2 separate regions of the Homo sapiens genome follow, and region 1 is linked to region 2. Evidence: promoter capture Hi-C in 16 types of primary human blood cells and fetal thymus (Javierre and others, 2016). All regions are on one chromosome and are shown on one strand. Each heading gives the region's core, a stretch centred on a gene start or on the middle of the fragment in contact. The rest is flanking DNA. Distances are from core to core; before and after follow the strand shown.

The links. Contacts are between HindIII fragments. The CHiCAGO score rates a contact against its expected background, and 5 or more counts as called.
Region 1: a fragment that was not itself captured here is called in contact with the fragment with the promoter of SAMD8 in region 2 in 1 of 17 cell types (total CD8 T cells); the score reaches 5.2 in total CD8 T cells.

The regions. Positions count from the first base shown.
Region 1 is chr10:74,105,027-74,111,605 of GRCh38, forward strand. It overlaps VCL (vinculin), which reads left to right. Exons shown (of 22, transcript NM_014000.3): 16 at 25-327; 17 at 2,204-2,328; 18 at 3,945-4,130. Among named protein-coding and RNA genes, the nearest start is that of AP3M1, 43 kb to the right of the region's middle. The HindIII fragment of the contact is 184 bases long and covers 4,142-4,325 here.
Region 2 is chr10:75,106,462-75,113,163 of GRCh38, forward strand. It overlaps SAMD8 (sterile alpha motif domain containing 8), which reads left to right and starts at 5,195. Exons shown (of 6, transcript NM_001174156.2): 1 at 5,195-5,261. DUSP13A (dual specificity phosphatase 13A) reads right to left here and starts at 2,696. Exons shown (of 3, transcript NM_001007271.3): 1 at 2,548-2,696; 2 at 1,531-1,748. The coding sequence starts at 2,696. It also overlaps a transcript of DUSP13B not described here. RefSeq lists enhancers at 1-359, 81-130, 4,005-4,954, 4,955-5,903 and a silencer at 4,942-5,281. The HindIII fragment of the contact is 16,308 bases long and covers 1-6,702 here.

The sequences.
Region 1 (6,579 bases), core at 2,984-5,483, 1.0 Mb before region 2:
ATTCCATTTCTGTTTTCCTAACAGGGCTGGTGGACGAAGCCATTGATACCAAATCTCTGTTGGATGCTTCAGAAGAAGCAATTAAAAAAGACCTGGACAAGTGCAAGGTAGCTATGGCCAACATTCAGCCTCAGATGCTGGTTGCTGGGGCAACCAGTATTGCTCGTCGGGCCAACCGGATCCTGCTGGTGGCTAAGAGGGAGGTGGAGAATTCCGAGGATCCCAAGTTCCGTGAGGCTGTGAAAGCTGCCTCTGATGAATTGAGCAAAACCATCTCCCCGATGGTGATGGATGCAAAAGCTGTGGCTGGAAACATTTCCGACCCTGGTAAGCAATGCATGGCACTATGTCTCACCTCCACTGAGAGGTTAACTCAGGAAAGGTCGTGAGGGAATATGTACCCCACAACCACCACATACAAAGTCTGGGGGCAAAAACTATAGACACTTAGTTTGAGAATGCTAGATTAATCTTTTTCCATCCAAGTCTCTGCAGTTATCAGCAGGCTTGTTGTATGTTAGTTTTTCTGGACCAACTTCTCTGTGCTTTCTTTTTTTTTTGAGACTCTCACCCAGGCCAGAGGGCAGTGGCATGATCTCAGCTCACTGAAACCTCCACCTTCTGGGTTCTAGCGATTCTCCTACCTCAGCCTCCCGAGTAGCTGGGATTACAGGTGTGTGCCACCATGCCTGGCTAATTTTTATGTTTTTAGTAGACAGGGTTTTGCCATGTTGGCCAGGCTGGTCTTGAATTCCTGACCTCAGGTGATCCACCCGCCTTGGCCTGTCAAAGTGCTGGGATTACAGGTGTGAGCCACCGTGCCCAACCTCTGCGCTTTTTTAGTGCTGGGATTACAGGTGTGAGCCACCGTGCCCAACCTCTGCGCTTTTTTTTTTTTTTTTTTTTTTGAGACGGAGTTTTGCTCTTGTTGCCCAGGCTGGAGTACAATGGCACAATCTTGGCTCACTGCAACCTCCGCCCCCGCCTGGATTCAAGTGATTCTCCTGCCCCAGCCTCCTGAGTAGCTGGGATTACAGGCTCCCACCACCACACCCAGCTAATTTTTTGTAGTTTTAGTAGAGGCAGAGTTTCACCATGTTGGCCAGGCTGGTCTCAAACTCCAGACCTCAGTTGATCCACCCGCCTTGGCCTCCCAAAGTGCTGGGATTACAGGCATCCAGCCTGTGCTTTCTTAATATGGTCTGGCTAAATAGCTCCTCGCCTTGTTCAGTCATTATTTTGGAAAATTTTCAAAAGATGCATGATAACCAATTTACCATCCATTTAGTTTATGTAACTGGTGTTAACTTCTCTTGGGCTTTTCTTAAAATGCTTTTTTTTCTTTGTAAAGCATTCTCAGTTTCTATCAAATCTGGAGGGCTTAAGTTGATCTGTGGGTCTCCTAGGCCCTACACCTAAAGAAAATCTGGGTTTTCTTTAGGTGAATTTTGATCATATTTTTGGTACTACCATGGCAGATCATAATTGGAGCCGCTCCTTTGGTTGAAATCATCTGAATTCCTTCCTGTTTTGAACATCTGATGTTTTCAGTCTTGTCTATGAGTAGAATGCAGTCAATGCAAGAGAGTAGGAAGGAGGGGCTCCCCTATTCATCTCTGGTTCAGGCAGAATCTTTCTAATATCCAAAACCCATTATCACTAAGGACATGCTTGGTTTCCTAATTGGAGTTTCTAATAGTAGAGTAGATTCCTGAATTCCAGGCAACTGAACAGAGTAGCGCAGCTCAGCATAAGGGTTAACATACTGAATGCCAAGGACAGCAAAGGAGTAGAGAGAAAGGTGAGAAGTACTTCAGGGAATGTATGTCCAATCTGAAACTGACATCTCCCATGTTCTGAGTTGGGCAGGCTTATCTCTTGACTGCCTCATCATAAGAGAGGTGATGGATGCCACCTGAGCCCAAAGTGTTCATGCCCAGGGATCTCCTGGGTACTTTTTAGTTGTACAGCCAAGAAGGCACCCTGAACACTAAAAGAACAGCTGGTTTGTGATGCTTCCAATGCTCTGCAGGCCTCAGGGCATCTGCCTTGTCCTGCCTCCCCCCTTCTTCAATCACTGCCCGTGATATTTACTGGCAGCTTCACATCCAGCTTTTGTTCATGGAACCAGTTCTGCTGCTGCACAGACAGTGCTTTGGGGCACTGACCCACCCAGCTGAAAGTGAGGATGTCTTGTGTTTAGGACTGCAAAAGAGCTTCCTGGACTCAGGATATCGGATCCTGGGAGCTGTGGCCAAGGTCAGAGAAGCCTTCCAACCTCAGGAGCCTGACTTCCCGCCGCCTCCACCAGACCTTGAACAACTCCGAGTAAGTAAATTCAGATATGCAGAGAATTGAGCAGGAAGGTGTTGAGACTTCAGCAAGAGAGAGGTAGATTGTGTTTTAGAGCCTCCATCACTAGGTGGCTTCGTTTAGCTTTCATTTGAAGCTTAGTGGGAGGCAGATCTCGATTTTCATTCCTAAATCCAGTGGAGTTATAACCTAGTGCTTATATGCATGGGTTGTGTGTGTGTGTGTAGTACTGGTGTGTGTGGTAGTGGCTTGCTGTGATGGGGAGCGGCTGGAGCAGAGGAGCTGGCTTTGGTAAGTGTGGATGTGATGAGTGATGAGGTAGTGCATTGTGGTAAAATAATCTGCACAGCTTGGAGTAAGGAGATTTGGTGTGTTCTTAGTTGATAATGGTAGAACCGAGGTGGTTGAAATCTTGTGTTGGTTCTTTCCTTTATTTGACTTTTTTTTAAGTAACAAGATACATGCTTTTAAAAAATTTTTCCCTAACTATAATTTAAGATCTTTAGATACCTTCCCCACTACCCCCCGCAAGTACTGTGAATATATTTTTACATGGTGTAGGAAGAAGCTAGCTAGGCAGTATGTTGCAGACACAAATTCCAGAAACAGAAATAGTGATTATTTCTAGACACTTATTCCAACTAACAGTATTAGAAATACCTTGACTTTGTAAATAACTTATCAAGGCAATAATCTGATTTACTTTCCCATATTTAATGTCAGTAAAAGATGTTAAGTTTTTAAGTTGGTTGAGTACAAAATTGTGTCATCGCACACACAGCTAAGGAACAGTGTTTCCCAGCCTTCAACGCATCTTAGATTCTTCCCAGCTGGGTGCTTGGTGGGTGTTTAGAGCTGGGAGAGAGGGCTATTCCTGGGAATGGCTTCTTATGTGAGCAACAGAGTTATGTCATTTAGAATCTGGATCTTAGAGGTCATTTGGTCTAGCTACCCCTCAGTGACAGATGAGGAACCTCAGGCCAAGGGGAGAAGTTACTTGCCTATGTAGCTGCTTTCTGGTAGAACCAGGACCACAACTTACATCTTCTGTAGGGACTTTTTGAGAATCCTTCATCTGGTAGCACTGTGTATACTTCCCTGGGATGCAACCAAAACAGTAGCTGCAAGCCTTTTTTTTTTTTCTTTTTTTCTTGTTTTGAGATGGAGTCTTGCTCTGTCGCCCAGGCTGGAGCGCAGTGGCATGATCTCAGCTCACGGCAACCTCTGCCTCCCGGGTTCAAGCAATTCTCCTGCCTCAGCTTCTTGAGTAGTTGGGATTATAGGCACATGCCACCATGCCCGGCTAATTTTTGTGTTTTTAGTAGAGATGGGGTTTCACCATTTTGGGCAGGCTGGTCTCGAACTCCTGACCTCAGGTGACCCACCTGCCTTGGCCTCCCAAAGTGCTGGGATTATAGGCGTGAGCCACTGCGCCCGGCCACTGCTAGCTTTTTGTAGAGAAACCTGCTTCTGTTGAGATTGAAGCAGGTGGTCCTTGTGGCTCAGTGTGGGTGGTCTTATGTGGAGTCAATATGGGTGGGTTTTCTAGGGATGCTTTTTAGAAGAAAGGAAAGAATTCCAGGGGGGAGTAGTTTTAGGACTTTACTTACAACTTGTTTTCTCTTTTTTAGCTAACAGATGAGCTTGCTCCTCCCAAACCACCTCTGCCTGAAGGTGAGGTCCCTCCACCTAGGCCTCCACCACCAGAGGAAAAGGATGAAGAGTTCCCTGAGCAGAAGGCCGGGGAGGTGATTAACCAGCCAATGATGATGGCTGCCAGACAGCTCCATGATGAAGCTCGCAAATGGTCCAGCAAGGTAAGTAGTGAAGCTTTTCTTGTTGAGAAAGGATGTCTTCTCGGAAAGGATGAAGGACCATGAAAGACCCAGAAAGAAGAGTCTATTTGGAGTCACCCTCTCTCTCTCCTTTGGTTCCTGTGTTGCCAATAGCATATTCCTCTTCTTACCTGTGCTTTAGTGAGATGTTTCTGACACCTGATGGTTTCTCCTTCAAGCTTGCAAAAGCCAGAGTCAGGGTGCCTGTGATTTGAGAAGAGGATTCCTGTCCTTTGTCCATTAGAGTGCCAGGTGCCTTGACCTTAGCATTTGGGGTCTTTTAGAAATTGCTTATCTTTCTTGGAACTGCAAATGTTTTTAGATGCTACATTGCTAATGATCAGAGCTCCAAATATGAATTGTGTGGGCTGTGCTAAAGCTAGATGAAATGTTTGCATTTTCTTTTTTTTTCCACAGAAGCAAGTAGATTGGTATCTTAGAAGCCATGTGCTTTTGTCCTTTCTCAGAATCATTTCACCTGTCAACTCAAGACAGCTCCAGGCTGTCTCTTACTCAGCAAATCTGAAGGTGTAAATATTAATGTGGTTGGTAAAAATATGGATGCTACAGCAGTCTTGCCCTATGAATAACTTTTGCCTATTTTCCCCTAAATGATGAAAAGTGAGCAGTAGCTTTTCTAGATAAGAGGAATATTATTGCTAACCCTGCAGTGAAAGGTAGCTCTTAGTTCTAAACTGTTTCTAATATGACCCTAGATCTTTTTTTTAATGTTTTTATGACCCTAGATCTTTATTCCCACCACCTATTTGCCTTTATTCTTTACACATCCTCAAAGCTTTCAAGCTCTTGTGTCGATTGTATTTCCTCAGGGACCTCCTGCACCTGCAGCTGATCTTGGATTTTTTTCAGGCTGGGAAATTCACATTGGTTTTTAACTCTGTATTTTGCTGAACTGTTAGCTGTGAGCCCAGGTTCTAAGAAGGAAGGGAGACTTTGCTGGTGTTGGACCTGACCTGTAGAATTATTTATAATGGTATCTCTCCAACTGCATGTGGCAGAGCCCCACTGTGCATGGGGAGTGGGGGAGGGTGACAGTGAAGATTTTAAAGGAAATTTAAATTTCATTACAATGAACCAAAATACACTATGCAGAACAAAAAATATACATGAATTATTTAAAAAAACAAACAAACTTAAAAGCAGACAGCATTGGCCCACATTACTTGCCCCACTCTGCCATTTGTGGCCAGAAGTCCTGAGGTCTATCTCCTGAAGTGTGCAAGATCAGGAGTTTGCTGACTTTGAGTTGTGTGAAGTCAGAAGCTACTTGAACCATGTGTGTACTGGGCTGGGGAGGAATATCTGTTCGTGTGTCTGTCAACCTATCTGTCTTTGTACACTGTGGGACTCTGAGCCTTAGCAGCAGTGAGCTGGCTTTTCTTCTGAGCAGCAGAGATGGGTCTTGGTTGAGTTTAGGCAAAAGAGTTTAGATGGTATCTGAACCCCTTGTTGGCCCTGAATCCTCCAACATCGTCACCCTTTGGAGTCAGGTTTCATGTGCAGGTTAAGACTTTTAGGAGTGGTAACAACCTCAAAGAAAATTCCATATAAACTACTTCCTCTTGAGTACAGATGTTTGATGTAAAGAACCTGTATTCATCATTCTTTGTATAAATGGTTTGGCTTCATTGTGGCAGTTTTTAATTTTCTTTCCATGTTAGTCTATTTTCAGCATCTGGCTTTTATAATCTCCATCCCTGGTTCTAAATTCATGTTCTCTCCATCATGATTCTCATTCTTAAATGAGCACCATTCTTCTGAGCTTCTGTGAGCTCAGCTGCAGTCACTTGCCAAGTTCACATATTATTCTATCTGTGAACTAGATAAGCAGAGTTTGGGGTGAGTGAGAACCTATTTTGCAAGCAATTTAGGTTGTACCCAAGGAGAAGCTTTCTGAGGTGGTACTAGCAATGGATGCAAAAAGAGATGGTAGAAGCTTTGCCTCAGAAGACCTTGAGGGGATAGAGAGCTGGTCTGATGTGTGGGTGTTCCCTGAGATGGGCGGCTGACGAGGTGGCTTCTTGAGGCTCCTTACAGCTGGGTGACAGTGGGGTACTTAAGTTCTCTTCAGTCACCATTGTGTTTGTTTTTCCTGCCTCTTTCCTAGTTTGGTATTCGTTACCTCTGATGTATCATTTTTAATTCTGGGACTTTTAACTCATGAAGGAAATAATCTATGTCTGGCAGCTGCAGAGCTGACCCAAATTGCCTCCTGTGTCCCAGGAAAATGTAGAACAGTGACCATATGATCCAGCAGTGTTCACTTTGTTCTGTACAAAGTAACTTGTGTGGCTGCATTTACTTTTTCTCTCCGGATTCCTTTTAAAGGTAATTTGCTACTATCGTTTGGTTGTTTGGCTCCTCAGAAATATTCTCATGTGAGAATCACTCTTGTCAAGTTTGACTTTAG
Region 2 (6,702 bases), core at 3,945-6,444:
TGAGACACGGCTTCCTCCACAGGCTTTCTTGACCGCTCAAAGTATTGCTTGAATCACAAAGCAGCTCATCTTTTTTGCATATTACCCATGGATACCTTTGTAGAGGGAAGTCCCCCCACCTTCCCGATCCTCTGGGCTTAGCACCCCCGCCGTGTGCTCCCAGAGCCCTCCACACTGGCCCACTCTTATGAGTAGCTCTCACTATACTATTCGCAATTTGGCTGTCTTTCCACCAGTTCCAAGAGGGCAGGGATCCTGCTTCTTAAAGTCTGGATTCCCAGTATTTAGCTCAGTGCCAGGCACGTAGTGGATACTCAGTAAATAGCTGGTGAATGAATGGATAAATAGCAAAAGAATGTCAAAGTGTGTTGGATACTAAAAAGTCATGTGAGCTGTAATCTTGTCATTCCTGTCACATAGATGAGGAAACTGAAGTCCAGAAAGGGACACTGGCTTGCCCAGGGTCACACAGTGAGGGACACAGCTGTCTTCTAGGATGGACACAAAGCCAGGACACCAGCCTCCCTGGGCTCCTATGCTGTATCCTGAGTATTTGAAGATATATTTCTTTTCTAGTTAAAAGTACTTTGGGGGCCGGGTGCGGTGGCTCATGCCTATAATCCCAGCACTTTGGGAGGCCGAGGCAGACAGATCACTTGAGGTTAGGAGTTCGAGACCAGCCTCGCCAACATGGTGAAACCCTGTCTCTGCTAAAATACAAAAATTAGCCGGGTATGGTGGCGGATGCCTGTAGTCCCAGCTACTTGGGAGGCTGAGACACGAAAATTGCTTGAAGCCCAGAGGCAGAGGTTGAACCCAGGAGGCGGAGGAGCAGAGATCGCGCCACTGCACTCCAGCTTGGGTAGCACTGAGACTCTGTCTCAGAAAAAAAAAAAAAAGGAGAAAAAAAGTACTTTGGGGCAGACATCTAGGTACCAAATGGTGCTTTCCCAAAGTTGAGTGTTGCAGAGAAAGAGCTGTTCTGCTGTTTGGGAGAAATGGCTTTCAGCCTCAGGGTTGCTCCTAACTCATGGCATGACCTTGTATTCCAGGCCTCAGTTTCCCCATCTGGGAAGGAATCGGGTTCGACAAAATGCTGGAGCACTAAGCAGAGGACTTTTTTTTGGCGGGGGGGGATGGAGTTTCGCCCTTTTGCCCAGGCTAGAGTGAAGTGGCATGATCTCGGCTCACTGCAACCTCCGCCCCCCATGTTCAAGCAATTCTCCTGCCTCAGCCTCCAGAGTAGCTGAGATTATAGGTGGGTGCCACCATGCCCGGCTAATATTTGTATTTTTAGTAGAGACGAGGTTTCACCGTGTTGGCCAGGCTGGTCTTGAACTCCTGACCTCAGGCGATCCACCCACCTCGGCCTCCCAAAGTGCTAGGATTACAAGCATGAGCCACCACACACGGCCTAAGCAGAGGATTTTTAAAAAGCAGGGATGGGAGGGCACTGATGACTGAGAGGAAATGAGGCATCCTCCCCATGAATGAGCAAGATGGGATATGGGCTTGGACCCCAAGTCCTACCCCCAGGCGTGTTGAGGGCACGGTGGATGAAGTCAGCCGCAGAGGAGAAGTAGGCACTGATGTCAAAATCAGGGAGGTCGTGGGCTGGCACCCCCAGGTAGCTCACACTGCTGCCGTAGAAGTCAGGGCCGCCCTGACAGTAGAGGCCCTTGTGGGCGGCGTTCAGCACGTGGGTGATGCCCAGCTTCCACAGCTCAAAGCGGTTGTTTGCCGTGGCCCTGGGGAGGGCAGGAAGGGCACTTGATGCCGGCCAAGCCATGGGACCAGGAGGGAGGCTGTGCCTGGCCCCCTGCTGCAGAGGGACCGAGCCATTAGGGTCCAAAGAGAGTCCAACCCCAGCAAGCTCCAAGTGGGGTCTGACTCCACAGCCCTATACCCAGAGCCCCGCACTTTCTGGTGGCTGAGCCGGCGGTGTGTGTGTCGGGGGATCTTTAGACCCTCTTTGCTTCCTCAATGCATCTGTCCCTGCCTTGGCCAGGACAGGAAGGAAGGGATTGCTTCAGCCCTGGAACCTGGCTGCCCCTCCCTTCTTGCCCCATGTCCTCCCACGCATATCCGTCCTCTACTGGCTACCACCTCATACCTGCTTCTAACCTACAAATGTTTAGAGGCAACACCTTCTCTGATTCACCTTCAGTCAGGCTTCTCCACCGTCTGTATCCAGAGGAGGGAGGCTGGGCCCAGAAACAGGGGGCTCTCTGTCTACCTTATCTCATGCCCCAAATACTATTTCCTGGGCCTCTGCCTCTACACTTGACAGTTGTCCTGGAAATGTTTCCTGGAACTCCTGGGAGACTCCCTGCTTTCAGGCAGGCGAAGTCCCTGCTCTCCCTGGTGGCCATACCTGGTCACTGCACTGACCTCAGCACCCCCGGGGGTCCTGGAGAAGGTCCCTGGCCTGGGATGGTCAGAGCAGAGCTATTTCTCCTTGTTTCCACCCTCCTGTGTCTGGTAAAGCGACCAAGAACTGCCTCTCCACGTCCCCACCCCCATGCCCCTTGGCCAGCTACCACTCACGCATCTCCTATGAAAAGGTTGGGCCAAACTTCGTCCACACGGCTGCAAGAAGACTTCCCTGCCCGCAGGAGCTCCTCCAGCTCCAGGATGCTGGGGCAAGGCGTGGCTTTGTCCTCTCCCCCCAGCTCTGGGAGAGAGGTCTCAGCCATGGGCCAGCCCGCCCACCCCTCTGCCTCTGTGGTCACTCCTCTCTGCCTCTCCAGTGTCATTTCTCCTTCCCAGAGATTGACAGGGACAGGTGACAGAAGCAAGTGACTCAGCAAGTCACAGGGGCCTCTGGAGTGGACAAGACCTTTTCCTCCCCAAGCCTCCCCCCACCCCCAAACTCCATGAGAACACAGAATCAGAGAGACCTCTGCAAGTCAGCTACCACCCTGAACCTCAGTTTCTTCATCTGTAAAGTAAGGATAATCACACCTACCTCAGAGAATTTGAGGATTAGATGAAACAAAGGACATGCTGGGTCTGACACATAGTAGGTGCTTAGAAACATCTGTGGAATTAGTAGATGTAGAGCCCTGCCTAAGGCTATTAGGTTCTGAGGACTGAGTTAAAGTAGAGATCCAGGGTGCAGAGGAGGTGGCTGGTTCCAAGGATGAATGATAGAAAGAACTGAAAGAAGTGTACAGTCTAGGTGGGCCACAAATTGGGCAGGAGCTGGATTGGATGTCTGTTGGATGAGTCTCTGAATTACGGAGGTCAGGGACAGTTTTCTGAGTTGTAGAGTCAGAGAAATATGGGTAAGAGACATGGAGAGCTTCCTTTAAAGGGTGCCCACAAGATTCATGGGGGGAGGGGGAAGGTGTTTTTTTTTGTTTTGTTTTGTTTAGACAGGGTCTCACTCTGTCACCCAGGCTGGAGTGCAGTGGCATCATCTTGGCTCACTGCCACTACCACCTCCCAGGTTCAAGTGATTCTCCTGCTTTAGCTTCCTGAGTAGCTAGGATTACAGGCATGTGCCACCATGCCACACTAATTTTTGTGTTTTTAGTAGAGATGGGGTTTTGCCATGTTGGTCTGACTGGTCTTGAACTCCTACCTCAAGTGATCAGCCTGCCTCGGCCTCCCAAAGTACTGGGATTACAGGTGTGAGCCGCCGTGCCGGGCCAATGGGGCAAGGTTTGAACAATGGTCCTGTAGTGAAGATGGCTAACTTCTCAGAAGAGAAGGCTGAAGAGGGCCTTGTATGTCAAATGGGGAGACGGGAGGTGAGTGTTGCCCTAGACTTTGAGAGCCAAAGGGGCTAACTGTCATCAGAAACAGTGGGAGGGAGATTCCTCTGCCTATAAGGGCTTTGGGTCCCAAAATAGAAACTGAGAAAGGTCAACCTGTCCTTCTGCCAGAGCTGGTTATCAGCAAGAGAGATGAGATGTCTCACCCTCTCTCATGTGACTTCTCAGTGGCCCTAATGGAGCTGGGAAGGGTATGAGCTGCAGTGGGGAGGTTCCCAGCTGCCCTTGGCCTTAAGACCAGTTTGAAGGGAAAGGCCACACCAGGGCATCCCATGGAAGCAGTCTACACTCATGTCTATCCCATTCAGAACCATTGAAGTCGGCCCGGCACTGTGTGGGGAGGCAAGACCAAGGAGGGGCTCGTGTCCAGGTTACAGCTGGGTTTGGACTTGGTTTATGCCAATGCTAGACCTGGCTTGGGAGGAGACCTTCCCTCAGGGTGGTGCAGCATGGTGGAGTGAGGAAAATACAGGATCTGATGTTAGAGAGATTTGGGTTGGAATATCAGTTTGCAATATGTCAGGCAGTATGTTTCTTTACTTTTCTGTGCTATAGGATCCCCCTTGCAGAATTAGCACTAGGATTTTTTTTTTGAGATGGAGTTTGCTCTTGTCGCCCAGGCTGGAGTGCCATGGCGTGATCTCGGCTCATTGCAACCTCCATTTCCCGGGTTCAAGCGATTCTCCTGCCTCAGCCTCCCGAGTAGCTGGGATTACAGGTATGCACCACCACGCCCGGCTAATTTTTGTATTTTTAGTACAGACGAGGTTTCCCCATGCTGGCCAGGCTGGTCTCGAACTCCTGACCTCAGGTGATCCCGCCTCAGCCTCCCAAAGTGCTGGGATTACAGACGTGAGCCTCCGCTCCCGGCCTTAGCACAAGGATTAAATGAGATGTTTATATGGCGTTTGGCATAGACACTGTCAAAGAGTAAATGGGCAATAAATTATAACAATGATCATTGGGGGCTGGCTATTGGAGAAGAGCTGGCTCTCTCCAGAGGAATTCGGATTACCTCCTTCTAGGCCCTAACCCCATTTACTGATCCCACAGGCCCCGCCCCGGCTCCGCTAGCCCCGCTTCCTCCTGTCGCTTTGGCCTCCGGCATGACGCATGCGCCCTCGGGCTCCTCCGCGGCAGCATCTCGGTTCTCCTCTCGGGCCCATCTGGAGCCTCGCGTCTTTTCCAGTGTGGGCCCCGCCCCCTGCCGGTAGAACCCCGTCCCCGGCCGGTAGGGCCCCGCCTCCCGAAGCAGTTCCGGTTCGGCTCCGAGCAGCTGCCGGCGCGGCGGTGACGGCGGCCGGGACGATGCCTGCGCGCAGTCGCCACCGCCCCCGCCTCCACTCCGGCTCCCCGCCCCGGGCTCCGCCCCCGCCGCTTGAGGCGCTTCACTCCGGCGAGGCGGGGAGGGCCCCGGACTCCGACGGCGGCTCGGACGCCGACTCGGAGGTGGGTCCGGGGAGCCCGACTCGGACCGCGGAGGTGAGCGGGAGCTGAGGCTGAGGAGAGGGGAGCTTGGGGGGCGCCTGCTGCCAAGGGTGAGTGGGGAGTCTGGGATGGAGCCGGGGGCTGCCGAGGGACCGCGACCTGGAGGGGCCCCGGGGAGACGGTTGAGGGAACCGGGATAGTCAGCTCTGGAATGGAATCTGAAGCAAATGGAGGTTGTCGAACTGAGGGCCTGAAGGCTGAGGGATAAGTGGAGGCCGAGGAACGAGAGGGAGAGAGCGAGAGGGGGAGGCTTGAAGAGCCCAGAGCTTGGGGGCTTTTGAAAGCTGCGCAGTGGGGGAAAAAGATCGAAGGTCCTGCGGGAATGTGGACCCGGAAGAAGAGATGCTCTGGGTTTGGCAGCGGGGATGAGGAGTCAGAGGAGCAAGACCTGGGCCGGTGTTCCCTTCCCAGGGCGAGGGAGGGCGATCGGGGCTGGGACTGGAGCCCTCTCATGGGGTTCTCCTCTTACGGAGCCCTCTTATCCGCCTCCCACCCCGGGTGGGGCTGGTGGTGATGGAGGGCAGGATTTAGGTTTGACTAGAAGGAGGAGGGCTGTTGGATGGGAAATCGTCTGGCCTCAAGGGGTGAGGGAGGCACTGAAAAAGAGAAGTGTGGTCAAGAAAGAAAAGGAGCCCTTGGGGATCTAATTTTGGGCTTTGGCATTTTTACAGGTGCCTTTTAAAACATCAAAGATCACTAGGGCAATGTACTTGGATCGTGGGGCTTTCTCGTTCGTGCACAGTGGATCATTTTAAGAATCTTGGGTGGAAGGGGCGGTGTGAATCACTGATTTGCCTAAAGGACTGGGGGAAGTAGTGGAGAGGAAGTGATGTTTGAAGAAGGTAGTGGAAGACGTGATTCTGAAAATGAAGATATCATTTGGATTTATTGACAGTAATGGTGTCCTTTTTTTCATTGTAATTTTTTCGTAGCTAAGTTTAAATACCAGACATGTTAAGATCCTAAAAATTTACTATATTACCTTTAAGTTTTAAAAACTTGAAACAAGACTTTGGATACTCAGATTTTAAAAATTAAACTTGAAACAAGAATTTGGACACTTGGATTTTACAGATACTCAACATGGACTGGTTCCACTTTCAAAGTTTTAAGTTGACACATGTATTTGCCACATAGTAAATGTATGGTCAATGCAAGTTTCTGGGTGAAGGGGGCACAGTGAACTTGCCACAGTCTAGGCGCAATACCAAATCTTCCTCTCACTGATAACCCCAGGATTGGACTTATCTCTTGAAAATTGGAGAGGTACCTTTGACTGATTGGCAAAACCAATATTGAAATACTATTTTGCAGGTATTGTGTGAATAGTATTTTTAGTAGAGTGATTTGGAAAAATAAGGACAGAGGATGCTTGTAGTTGGCAGCCAACACAACTGGGACAGGTGGGTATACAGATGCTTTTTATAGAAGACAT